Regions from separate parts of the Homo sapiens genome. Here all the other regions are linked to region 1. The links are contacts of gene promoters, found by promoter capture Hi-C in blood cells and fetal thymus (Javierre and others, 2016). All regions are on one chromosome and are shown on one strand. The core of a region is centred on a gene start or on the middle of the fragment in contact, and the rest is flanking DNA. Distances in the headings are between cores, read along the strand shown.

Region 1 (4,435 bases), core at 1,024-3,523:
GCAAATGCCTTCCCTTAGGTAGGTTATGTGTTTCCTAACACCAGGAAGATTGAGAATTAAGTATGGAAAGATTTGAGAGACCCAAACCATAGTATTGATAATTTTGTATTAAAGAATAAAATTGTGTATAGTTGCTATTTTGTGTATTTGCAATTTTTAATAGAATCAGACCTATTAGAATGATAGCCTTGTAAGGCCCATTTAAAATACAATTGAGTAATTGATGTGAAATTTTATGGTTTTGAGTTCTTAAGTTTACTGGAACATACAAGAGAACCTTAGGATCCTATATTTATACATTTAAGAGCTTAAATGTATATGAGTATTAAAGTCCTCCAAAAAGTTTAGTTTGTTAATACAGACAAATGCATATAGGAAAAGAAAGAGATGGCGATTATAACTAATAATCATAGCTTAAACTATTTGAAAGTAATTAACTTTATTCATAGGCCCTTTAGAAGTGATTGCTAAACTCTGCTAGACTAAAAAATAAAATAGTAACAAACCTGTACATGTACCCCTGAACTTAAAAGTTGGGAAAAATATAAAATAAAATAATTACACATATAAGTTGAACCCAAATAAACTATGTTTTTAATCCTAACTTTAATAATCAGAATATTAATTTTTAATTCAGAAGTAAACCTTTAAATGCTGTTTCCAACAAACCTCCAAAAGCCAGTTTCAGTGACATCCAGAAACTCCTATCAAAATAAGCAATTGCCATAGTGTGTGATAAGTGCTGTAATGAGGGAAAGATAAAATACTATATAGGAAGAAGTGGGAGAGATGGAATTTCAGAGTGTCTAAGAGGGACCTTAAGGAGGAGGACTGGGAAGGCCAAGAAAAAGGTGTGAAGATTAAGGGAGGGAGGGAACAGCCAAAAGGAGTTCATTCCTTTACAAATTCTGAGTATGCACCAGGCACAAAACCAGGGGTTGGGGCTCCTTCCTGCTTGGAGCTCAAGGCCAGGAGGTAAGAGGGAGCTTGGCATCTTGAAGGAAGAGAAAGAACTTCAGTCTGAGTGCAGCCCACCCTGAGAGGGTCAGAGGAAGAGCCCACTCACTCCCCCTGGGTGGGTGAGCCTCCAGGCGCTGGTGGATGTAGGTCAACTACTAAGATGGTGCAGAAACCAGAAGGCCCTCCAACAACTGCTCCTCCTCCTTCAGGAAGTTCTTTGCTTAATTTATTTTTGCTTTGGGGGTCAGAAGCCTATTTGTAAAGCATTTAAACTTTGCTGGGACTCAGCTACTCAAACTATCAGCCCTTCAGTCCAGCATCCCTGAAGCCTAAACAGGCAAGAAGCTCATCTTTGGCTTCAGCCTGAGGTCATGGGCTGCAGGAACCGGTGGGATCTGTTTATCAAGACCACTGAAGACCTGCGGGAGGAAGGATCTTATCTCAGTGTTGCCATGGGGACTGCTGGCTGGATTGACTGAATGCTCTGCAGAAAATGACTCTTTTTTAGAAGAGAAAATAGTTGCTATTTTCCAAAGGCTAAATGTGGAGTGAGGTGGCAGTGAGGGGGAAAACAGAAGGCCTGTGAGGGTAAGAAGTGGGGACCAAGGCCAACTCTGGCTAAAGAAGAATGGGGACAGGCTGCTCCAGGACTCAAGAGCTTGAGATTCATGCTAACCCACTCCAAGAGTTCAGGCCTCCACCAGAGGACATGGCTCTATTCATACAAGAATTTTATACAGAAAATAGTAGATCTGAGATTTACAAAACTCATTTTCAATTTCATAGGCTACAGCCTTCAGATAACTCCAAGTCACATCACATGTCTAATAGTTGTCTCAGAAAGAAGTACCCAAAAGGCATTTCCTCCAAAGGTCCTTCAGAAACTGTGAAATGGGCTCTATTTGAAGAAAACCATTTCCATCAATGTGCGCAGAGCCTCAGTATGAGTGTGCAGCACAGCTGAGCCTGTCATCCCTCGGAACACAGTCTGGGATTGCCTGGTGGCTGTCTGGCTATAAGGACTTTGGACATTATCCCCAACTCCCCATGGAAGAATTTTCCCTGTGTTTCCCACCAACAATACTGAGCCAAACTGCTTTTGATGTCCCCGGAGTTATCTGATCACCTAGATGACACTGAACAGAGCAAGATGACTAGGAGACAGCAGCTCAGCCCTGACATCTGCTCAAGGCCAGCAGCAAAAGTTCCAGGAGTTATATGAGCCACTAGGTCCATCCAATCTACCATCTGTCACTGGCTTACCTTGCCACCTTGGGTCACTGACTTCCCCACTCTGTGCCATCTGTGAAATGTGCATAATAGCACACCAAGTCCTTCTGTACCTCCTCCTTCTTCTCCTGTTCTCTCTCCCTCCCTGCTTCCCTCTCTCCCTTCCTCCTCCCTCCCTCTCTCCCTTTCTTTCTCTCTCTCTACCTCTCTTCCTATCCCCCTCTCTCTCCTTCTCTCTTTTTCCTATAGAAGAGAGATGATGTGTTTGTAAAGTGCTTTGAGCTCCTTGGAGATAGAGAGTCTATAAATATAAGCTGTTATCACTGTTACCATGGAAACACACACAGACAACTGTGCTCTGTTTCTGCATTTGCTGAGCATAATTCTGGCCTTCTTGCCCTGCTGGCTGTTAAACAATCAATGGTTTTACAAAGCTCAACAGCCAGGTAATAGGTGGAGCCTCAAGGCTGAACTTATTTGCTATTCAACTCTTCTTCATGTGAATTTTCAAAAACTGTGTTTCTGTTTGCTAAGGTAGAGGATCGTATAAGATTGGCCAGAGCCAGCTGTTAAACCAGGGATGCAAATAATGACAGGCATAGGTATGCCACCCAACCCAGGACCCTGATCTGTAACAAGGGAGAATTCCAATGAGCTGCAAAAATAATATTCTACCCATTTCCTAAATTTACTCCAACTCCTAACTCCTCAACTTTACAACCAGAGCTGGCAAAATGTTGGAATAAAGAGAGTTATGAGTTTGCACCCTTCTGCCAATTTGTGACCATCTGAAAAGCAGGGGCTATATCTTTTTCATTATTGTCTCCACAGGGCCTAGCACAGTGCCTGCACATAGCAGATGCTGCGCAGAGGCCTGTGGAAAAAAAAAATGAATAAGCGAGTTATAAATGGCTGTTGTTTTCTATTACACAGGTAAAAGTGTTGTTGAGTGAGGTATGCCGTCAAATGTTGGCTTGGGCCTCGGGATCTCAGAGGACATCAGTTTTGGCATGGCCAATCTGCTTCCTTCACCCTACCATCATAGTGAGAACAACGATATCACTTCACTTCTAGTTTAATGGGTGGTCCTGGGAAAGTTGCTCTGTATCTGAAAGCCCCATATAGAATGACGTAACCTAGTTGTTAACCAGACAACTGAAAGATCCAGTGCAAAAAGTGAAAGTGTGAAAACCATAGGAAAAGTCCTTTTTCCTCTCAGGCAATGCTGTGATCTCAGGGGTAAGTTTTCCAGGCCTCAGTTAGGAATGCAGTGAAATGGGAATGGGCTTTGGACTCAGACACATCAGAACTCAGTGTGTGAGCTCTGCCACTTACTGACCTTCCTGAGCCTCCCTTCTCCCATTTGTAAAATCAGAATAATAGCACTCTCTCACAGGTTTGAGGTGGCAGTTAAACAAAATTAGTATATAAACCCATAGCTCAGTGGCTGGCACCAGTCAATGATTTATGCATGATCATTCCATTCCATTAGTTTGCCAGTATGTATGAATATCCATTTATTTTGAATACTTCACTTACTAGTTTATTCTAAAGGCCTGGCAGATGTTTCAGGTCCCACTAAGATGAGTGTATGTGATGTCTCTGCCTTTGGAAAGCCGGATTGGAGGATGTGAAAGGGAGAGAGAAAATGCTCAAACACAGACAGGGAGTCGGGACCTGCTACATAATTTGCAGAGTCCAGTGCAAAATGAAAATGCAGGGCACTTGCCAGAAAATTTATTAAGAATTTCAAAAAGGTGACAACTGAGCATTAATCCAAGCAGGGGGTTCCACTAAGCTAAGGACGCCGTGTAACTGCATAGATTGCACACCGATGAAGTCAGCCCTAAAGCCAGGGCAGAGGTAAACTGGTTTCCAGGCTTGGTACAGACGATATACTGATGAAGTAAGTACAGTGAGTGATGCAGTTTCATGGTGTTACCCAAATGCTGTTTTTGTCATCAGGTAGCTCTAATATGATCACAGAGGACAGAGGTATTTTTTCTACAAAATACTTGAATACATGGAATTCATATTCTAAGCTAAACCTAACTGATAGTAAAGGTCATTTCAGGAGGAAAACACTTACAAAAACAAGCAAACTCCTATAGGAGTGGTTATGATTGCATAAAACACATAATAATTGTGTTCAGAGATTCAAATTGTTCCTGTATCATTGTTCATAGACGATATGGGGGAGAGGTCAAATTACAAAGCGTACAAAGCATTTATCTACTTACACAAT
Region 2 (4,435 bases), core at 531-3,030, 340 kb before region 1:
GTTTCACTATGTTGGCCAGGCTGGCCGTTGTATCATTCTTATGCCTTTGCTTCCTCATAGCTTAGCTTTCACTTATAAATGAGAAAATATGATGTTTGGTTTTCCATTCCTGAGTTACTTCACTTAGAATAATGGTCTCCAACTCCATCTAGATTGCGGCAAATGTCATTATTTCATTCCTTTTTATGTCTGAGAGGTATTCCATGGTGTGTGTGTGTGTGTGTGTGTATATATGTGTGTGTGTATATATATGTGTATGTATATATGTGTGTATATATGTGTGTATATATATGTGTGTATATATATGTGTATGTGTGTGTGTGTGTGTATGTATATATATATATATATATATATATATATATATATATATATATATATCACATTTTCTTTATCCACTCATTGACTGATGGGCATTTGGGCTGGTTCCATACTTTTTGCAAATGCAAATTGTGCTGCTGTAACTACATGTGTGCAAGTGTCTTTTTCATGTAATGAATTATTTTCCTCTGGGTGATACCCAGTAGTGGGATTGCTGGATCAAATGGTAGCTCTATTTTTAGTTCTTTAAGGAATCTTCACACTGTTTTCCATAGTGGTTGTACTAGTTTACATGCCCACCAGCAGTGTAAAAGTGTTCCTTTGTCACCATACTCATGCCAACAGCTATTTTTTTTAAATTTTTTTTTATTATGTCCATTCTTGCAGGAGTAAGGTGGTATTGCATTGTGGTTTTCACTTGCATTTCCCTGATCATTAGTGATGTTGAGCATGTTTTTCATGTTTCTTGGCCATTTATATATCCTCTTTTGAGGATTATCTATTCATGTCCTTAGGGGACATGGATTAGTATTTTTTTCTTGCTGATTTGTTTGAGTTCTTTTTAGATTCTGGATATTAGTCCTCTGTCAGATGCATAGATTGCAAAATTTTTCTCCCATTCTGTGGGTTGTCTGTGTACTCTCCTGATTATTTCTTTTGCTGCACAGAAGCTTTTTCTTTAATTTCCTTAATTAGGTCCCATTTATTTATTTTTGTTTTTGTTGCATTTGCTTTTGGGTTCTTAGTCATGAAGTTTTTGCCTAAGTCACTGTCTAGAAGGTTTTTCCACTGTTATCTTCTAGAATTTTTATGGTTTCAGGTCTTAGATGTAAGTCTTTGATCCACCTTGAGTTGATATTTTTATAAGATGAGACATGAGACTCCAGTTTCATTCCTCTACATATGGCTTGCCAATTATCCCAGCACCAGTTGTTGAATAGGGTGTCCTTTCCCCACTTTACGTTTTTGTTTGCTTTGTCAAATACTAGTTGGGTGTAAGTATTTGGCTTTATTGCTGGTTCTCTATTTTGTTCCATTATTCTGTGTGCCTGTTTTTATACCAGTACCATGCTGTTTTGGTGACTATAGTCTTTGCTAGTATAGTTTGAAGTTGGGTAATGTGATGCCTCTAGATTTGCTCTTTTTGGTTAGTGTTGCTTCAGCTATGAAGGTACTTTTTTGGTTCTATATGAATTTTAGGATTGTTTTTTCAAGTTCTGTGAAGAATGATGGTATTTTGGTATTTTGATGGGAAATGCATTGAATTTTTAATTTGCTTTCTGGTCCTGGGCTTAAGAAAGAAAGGAAGTGAAGGTATAGTAATAATTAAAGACAGGAAGTTCTTGATCAGGGTTGTGAAAGCTCCTTTCCCTGTAATGGATTAGAGAGGTCCTAAAGATCCTAGCCAGACTACAGATCAAATCCCTGCTCTTCAATATTCTTTGATGTCTCAAGCAAGTACAGTTAAACTCTGAGTCTCCACAATTGTAAAAATTGAGATAATAATATCCAGTTCTCAAGATTATTATAAGGATTAAATGATAATCATGTCTGTGAAGTACTCAGGCACTGCTTGGCACATAGTAACCTCTTGGTAGTTGAGAATCATTCCAAGGCTATTTTTCTAGCCTGCCACAATCCTGCCACCAGACTCCACATTCCCTCCTCATTCAGTAAACATAGAAGTGCAGCCTGGAATGCTTTCCATCTTCTGTCTGTTTAAAAAATCTACTCAAATGAGTAGGTGTGTGGTGGAGTGGCGAGGGGAGAGACTGCGGAGTCAGCAAGAAATCCTTTGGCAGTTAAAGTTATTTGAACTCAAAGCCTGTGTTCGCCCAACTGTAAAGTAGGGATAATAACATTGTCTGCCTCACAGGATTCTTGTATAACATAAGAAAATGCATGTGAAAGACTGAGCACAATGCTTGGTAGCAAGCAGTCAATAAAGGATGCCTATTAACTCTGCTAGGCAATAAGAGCTCAACTCAGTAGCATCCTCCTGTCTGAAGGTTTTTCTGTAATTGCTCCCTGTGCTGCCATAACACACTGTCTGTAGTGCATTTCTTTTCAACATGAAATTGTCATATTGCCATGTGTAAAAATTAGTAGCATATATAAAACATCTATACAAGCTCATGTGCTCCTTAAGGACAAAGACTGTTTCAGTGATGAGGTCCTCACAATCAGTGGGGGTTACATAGTAAAGGCTCAGAAGACATTGTTGAACTGAACTGAAATGACAAATTAAAACAGAAAGCTTTTCTACTAAGATGATAACTAGGAAGACAGTTATCATGTCCCCTAAACAACAGTAAAACTAGCAAGAAGTAAACCATGTTTAACAGTCACTCTAACATGGATGGTCAGGAAATTGATTGCAAGTGAGAAAAAGAGATGGAAATAATTGAGAAAAATATTTATGTGTCAGAAAGAAAAGTGTGAATCAATTACTAGAGTTATGAATATTAAGCAAGTTGCTTGAGAAGCATTGATGTACGGATGAATTGGGCAATTTTTCCCAAGTTTTCCACAAAAAGGAATCAAGATCACTCAGCTGCTGACAGATGATTTTTACCTTTCAGATTCAACATTATTTACTGTCACCCAGCTAAAGACAAAGGAGTTTACACGTTGTGTATGTAAATATTAACTGGGTGATGACTCACATTTTTATGGGAGCTCTATAATTCATAGTTATACGTGCAGACAAGCATCCCACTGAGAGACTGGGTGTGGGGAGAAGGGCATGGAAATTAAACCACTGCAAGTTTCCACGCACACCACTTCCTCCTTATCTGTGAAATTTTATCTTCTCTGTTATTGTCCAAGACGCTGTTGTGCAAACCCCTCACATCTGAAAGTCCTGGGAAGAGAACTGTGGTATGAGTTTTCAGGAATCGGGGCTAGATATGGGAGTACTTTTCCATGAAACAAAAGCGGATAACACCCCCCGCCCTCAACTCCAGGGCTTAATCAAAGGAGACCAAACCCTTGCTATAGGCATCAAGTTTGTATGCAGGATGAAGTATGGCAGACAACGAGGGAGGGAGTGTTTATTCAAACACATATGCAGCCCCTGTCCTAAATCAGTGCCAAATTGGGTGATGGCAAACCTAAGAAATACAGTGTCTCACTGATACAATCCCAGCTCCTCCTCAATGTTAAAGGGTAATTTATAAGTTAAAGTGAAAAGATTTTTTTTTCCAAGAGTCTTGCTCTCACACAGGCTGGAGTGCAGTGACGCTATCTCGGCTCACTGCAAACTCTGCCTCTCGGGTTCAAGCAATTCTCTGCCTCAATCTCCCGAGTAGCTGGGATTATAGGTGCCCACCACCACACCTGGCTAATTTTTGTGTTTTTAGTAGAGATGGGGTTTCACCATCTTGACCAGGCTGGTCTTGAACCCCTGACTTCATGATCCACCTGCCTTGGTCTCCCAAAGTGCTGGGATTACAGGCGTGAACTACCATGCCGAGCCAAGAATATTTTCAAAAACTAAATTTAGTATCTATTGTTTGCCTGAAAGGTCCAGGGGATATTGGTGTTGGTGGGAATGGTTCTAATTCTTATGTTCCTGGAAGTCCACAGATTTCTGTTCATGCCCAGGATCTGCTGCGCTCATGGAGGATGTCAGGCAAGTTGCTTAGCCATATAAGTTTGGGAGCAGGTGGGCAGTTTCCCAATTGGTACAATGAGATGACTGGTTAGCTCATCTCCAAGACAATTGGGCTTAACATTTTGGAGATCATAGATAACTTGGAGAATCTGATGAAAACTGTGAACCTTCTTTCCAGAAGAAAGTACATACATTTGACTTTCAACATTTCTTTTCAGAAACTTTATGGACACCTTGAATTTATCCACGGACTGCAGGTCCGTGTTCTAAAGGATTGTTGCATAGTGTTTTGGATAGTTTGAATACTAAGAATGAATACCAAGAGGATGTAAAACACAAGGGCACTGCTTTTCCTTCAAATATAACAATTTAAAATTCAATATTCCAGAGATATCAAGTTAAAAATGAAAGATCTGATATCTTCCGACTTTTAATCCATATAGTGCTATAAAGTTTTTTTTTTTTTTTTTTTTGAGACGGAGTCTCGCTCTGTCGCCCAGG
Region 3 (4,435 bases), core at 926-3,425, 260 kb after region 1:
AATGTATATCACCTATATCCACTAGAAACTGAGTTTTTGAAAAGGAAGTTAAATTTCTATAGCTACATAAAAGCAAAAGAAAGAGTTAACTCAAAAAAAAAAAAAATTTTAAACATCGTGACCCTAAGTAGTAGGCTAGAAAGAACATGAGGTTCTAGGCTAAATAGGTTCAAATTTGGGCCCTACCGCTTTCTAGCGTATAATCTTGGGTATTTTAAAAAACTGAGGTTTCCTTATGTGAAAAGAATATACAGTAGGCATTCAATAAGTGATAGATATTAACTATTAAGAAAAAGAGATTTCCCATTCTTTTTTAAAGAATAAGTTAATAAGTTTCTTTTTTTAAAGAAAAGTGAGAGCAAGTTTATTAAGAAAGTAAAGGAATAAAAGAATGCCTACTCCATAGGAAGAGCAGCCTCCTTTTGTTTTTAATATATCCCCTCCAGTCATCGGGACTTTAGGAAACATTTTAATGAAAGGATAGCTTGTGCCAGGTCAACAATTTCATTTCTCTCTAATTCCTTGCATAAAAGAGGACCCAATCTGGGGTGGGGGGGTTATCCTTTGCCCAGTCAGCCCCAAATAAGTTTAAAGTTTTTAAATTTATTGATGAAATTATCAAACAGCCACTCTTATGGAATATGCGTGACATTCAGTGAATTCTCTTCCATTGCTTTCTAACATCTAATAAATTCCTTTCGCTTGCTTTCTAACATCTAACAAATTACATAACAGTATCTTAAACAATTAAAAACAATAATTTAAAAAATGCTATTAAATCATTTCAAGAATATCTTTCTCATGACATTTTTAAAAAAGGTTTAATCCACAATGTATGTCTATTTAGTGTGTGTGTGTTGTGTGTGTAACAGAACCTCTTTTTTTAAAACCCTGGATTCATTTTATCAAGCTCCTTACAAATTTTCCAAAATTAAGTCCCTTTTTAGCCTAATCCTTTCTTTAAGGCTATAGATTTCTCATTTGTATTAGTAAGAATGTAACTGTATAAAAGGAACAGTATCTCAAAAGCTCAGTGTATTAATTAGAATAGTTTTCTAAGCAAGCTATTACTGAGGGACTACAAGAGTGAGTAAGAAATAAGCCCTACCTCCATGGTGTCTCATGCCTGTAATCCCAGCACTTTGGGAGGCCGAGGCAGATGGATTGCCTGAGGACAGGAGTTCGAGACCAGCCTGGCCAACATAGTGACACCCTGCCTCTACTAAAACTACAAAAACATAGCGGAGTGTGGTGGTGGGTGCCTGTAATCCCAGCTACTCAGGAGGCTGAGGCAGGAGAATCACTTGAACCTGGAAGGTGGAGGTTGCAGTGACCCAAGATCGTGCCAAGAAAGAAAGAAAGAAGAAAGAAAGGAAGGAAAGGAAGGAAAGGAAGGAAAGAAAGGAAAGAAAGGGAGAAAAGAAAGAAAGAAAGAAAGAAAGAAGGAAGGAAGGAAGGAAGGAAGGAAGGAAGGAAGGAAGGAAAGAGCCCTGCTCTCAAGGAGCTCACTCTCCTTAGTACATTACTGAGTCCCAACTCAGAGAGCCAGACAGCAGGATAGAGAGGTATTAATAAATTCCCAATGCATGTCTTTGAAAGTAGATGGATCCATTCTCCACCAGCACTGCCTTCCCAGAAGACTACAGCCTGTGCAAAACGCAGAGGGGATCTTGAAGAAAGCAGGAGTGATGGGGCAGAGATGCCTCTACTTCTGCTTGGCCCTGGATGTTTCTCTCTTTTGTCTCCTAGATTTTGGATGTCTGTCCCTCTCCCTCTTTATTGGTCCTGGATTTCTTTCTCTCCCTCTCTCTAGCTTCACGTTGTATATCTTTCTTTCCTAGAGAAATAGAAGGATATTCAAGAAAAGAGGGAAAAAAAGAAAAATAAGGCAAACATAAAAGAGATTAAAAATAGAGAAGTGATGTGAGCACTTACTGATATGGTATTAACTAAATAAACTTTGTAATTTCTTTCCTTCGTTTGGAAATTAGAATTACTTCAATGTGGAATAGTCATATACACATACAGACATGCACATCACATGTAAATGGGATCATCACACTGAGGTAGAAGACATGTGGGCCTTTCAGTATGTCCCAACTAGTTTCTTTAGCTATAAAATTTGGGAATAAGACTAGATCAATAGTTCAAAAACATTTTCCTGTTTCCTTTTTTCTTTCTTTTTTTTCTTTTTTCTTTTTCCCCTATTTCTTAACCTATAGTAAGAACCACAGTTTCCATTGGGACCAATACACACCCACACCCACATCCACCCACAACCACACACACACATGCCCTACAACTGGAATAAAATTCTCAAAAACAATTCTTATTCTCAATATGTGAAATGTACTGATATTTTTATACCTTTTTTTAAAAGCTGTCTATTACTTACAATTTAGCGCCTACAATCCAGTGATACATCATAACCTCAATTTCATAATCACTGATGTTAACCAAAATCAAAGGTCTCTTTCAGATCTAAGACTTTATGACTTGAATGACCAGTGGGTCAATGAAGAAATTAAAAAGAAAATTGCAAATTTTCTTGATACAAACGATAAAGGAAACACAATATACTATTAGTTATGGAATGCTACTAGCTAGGGAATTCAGTGAAAGCAGTATTAAGAGGGAAATTTATAGCTCTAAGTGCCTACATTAAAAAAAAAGAGAGAAAAACTTCAAATAAATAGCCTAATGATGAACCTTAGAAAATTACAAAACCTGGAGCAAACTGAAACCAAAATTAGAGGAAAAGAAATAATAAGATCATGGCAGAAATAAATGAATTTGAAATGAAAAAAAAATACAAAAGATCAATGAAACAAAAAGTTGGTTCCTTGAAAAGATAAACACAATTGATAATCCTTTAGTCAGAGTAAGAAAAATAGACAGAAGGCCCAAACAAATAAAATCAGAGATGAAAAAGGAAACATTACAAATGATACTGCAGAAATTCAAAAGATCATTGATGGCTACTATGAGCAACTATATGCCAATAAATTTAAAAATCTGTAAAAAATCAAAAACTTCCTACACACATAAAACCTACCAAGATTGAACTGGGAAGAAATCCAAAACATGAAAACACCAATAATGAGTAACAAGATCAAAGCCATAATAAAAAGTCTCTGAGTAAAGAAAAGCCCAGGACCTGATGGCTTCACTGCTGAATTCTACCAAACATATAAAGAACTAATACCAATCCTATTCAAACTATTCCAAAAAATAGAGGAAGAGGTAATATTTCCAAGCTCATTCTATGAGCTCAGTATTACCCTGATACCAAAACCAGACAACAACACATCAAAAAAAAAAGAATGAAAAAGAAAACTACAGAACAATATCTCTAATATTGATGCAGAAATCTTCAAAAATGCTAGAAAACTGAATTCAGTAACACGTTAAAAATATCATTCATCATGACCAAGTGGGATTTATCCCTGAGATGCAGGGATGGTACAACACATGCAAATCAATCAATGTGATACATCATATCAACAGAATGTAGAACAGAAACCATACAATCATTTCCATTGATGCCGAAAAAGCATTTGATAAAATTCAACATCCCTTCTTGTTAAAAACATCAAAAAATTGGATATAGAAGGAACATATACTTCAACATAATAAAAGCCATATATGACAGCCCCACAGCTAGTATCACAATGAAAGGGGAAAAACTGAAAGCATTTCCTCTCAGATCTGGAACATGACAAGGTTATACACTTTCACCACTGTTATTCAACATAGGAGGTCCTAGCTATGGCAATCAGATGAGAGAAAGGGCATCCAAATTGGAAAGGAAGAAGTCAAAGAATCTTTGTTTGCAGATGATATGAGCTTACCTTTGGAAAAACCTAAAGACTCCACCAAAAGACTCTTAGAACTGATAAATCCAGTAAAGTTGCAGGATACAAAATCATACAAATATCAGTAGCATTTCTATATGCCAACAGTGAACAATCTGAAAAAAAATTTTTTAAGTTATCCTATTTACAATAGTCATGAACAAAATAAAATACATAGGAATTAACAAAAGAAGTGAAAGATTTATACAATGAAAACTTTAAAACACAGATAAAAGAAATTGAAAAAGCCACTAAAAAATTGAAAGATTCCATGTTTATGGAAAGAATCAATATTGTTAAAATGTCCATACTACCTAAAGCAATCTACAGATTCAATGCAATCACTATCAAAATATCAATGATATTCTTCAAAGAGTAGAAATAGAAAAAACAATCCTAAAATTTATAAAAGACTCAGAATAGCCAAAACCATCCTAAGTAAAAAGATGAAAACTGAAAAAAATCACACTATCTGACTTCAAATTATACTACAGAGCTATAGTAACCAAAACAGCGTGGTACTGGCATAAAAACAGACACATAGATCAATGGAACAGAATAGAGAACCCTGAAACAAATCC

The links. Contacts are between HindIII fragments. The CHiCAGO score rates a contact against its expected background, and 5 or more counts as called.
Region 2: a fragment that was not itself captured here is called in contact with the fragment with the promoter of LINC00970 in region 1 in 1 of 17 cell types (M2 macrophages); the score reaches 7.8 in M2 macrophages.
Region 3: a fragment that was not itself captured here is called in contact with the fragment with the promoter of LINC00970 in region 1 in 1 of 17 cell types (erythroblasts); the score reaches 5.5 in erythroblasts.

Annotation. Positions count from the first base shown.
Region 1 is chr1:169,084,732-169,089,166 of GRCh38, forward strand. It overlaps LINC00970 (long intergenic non-protein coding RNA 970), which reads right to left and starts at 2,274. Exons shown (of 5, transcript NR_104091.1): 1 at 2,224-2,274. The HindIII fragment of the contact is 14,978 bases long and covers 1-4,435 here.
Region 2 is chr1:168,749,290-168,753,724 of GRCh38, forward strand. No RefSeq gene overlaps it. Among named protein-coding and RNA genes, the nearest start is that of DPT, 22 kb to the left of the region's middle. The HindIII fragment of the contact is 1,586 bases long and covers 988-2,573 here.
Region 3 is chr1:169,348,805-169,353,239 of GRCh38, forward strand. The region is part of intron 1 of NME7 (NME/NM23 family member 7); the gene reads right to left. Among named protein-coding and RNA genes, the nearest start is that of NME7, 17 kb to the right of the region's middle. The HindIII fragment of the contact is 5,177 bases long and covers 1-4,435 here.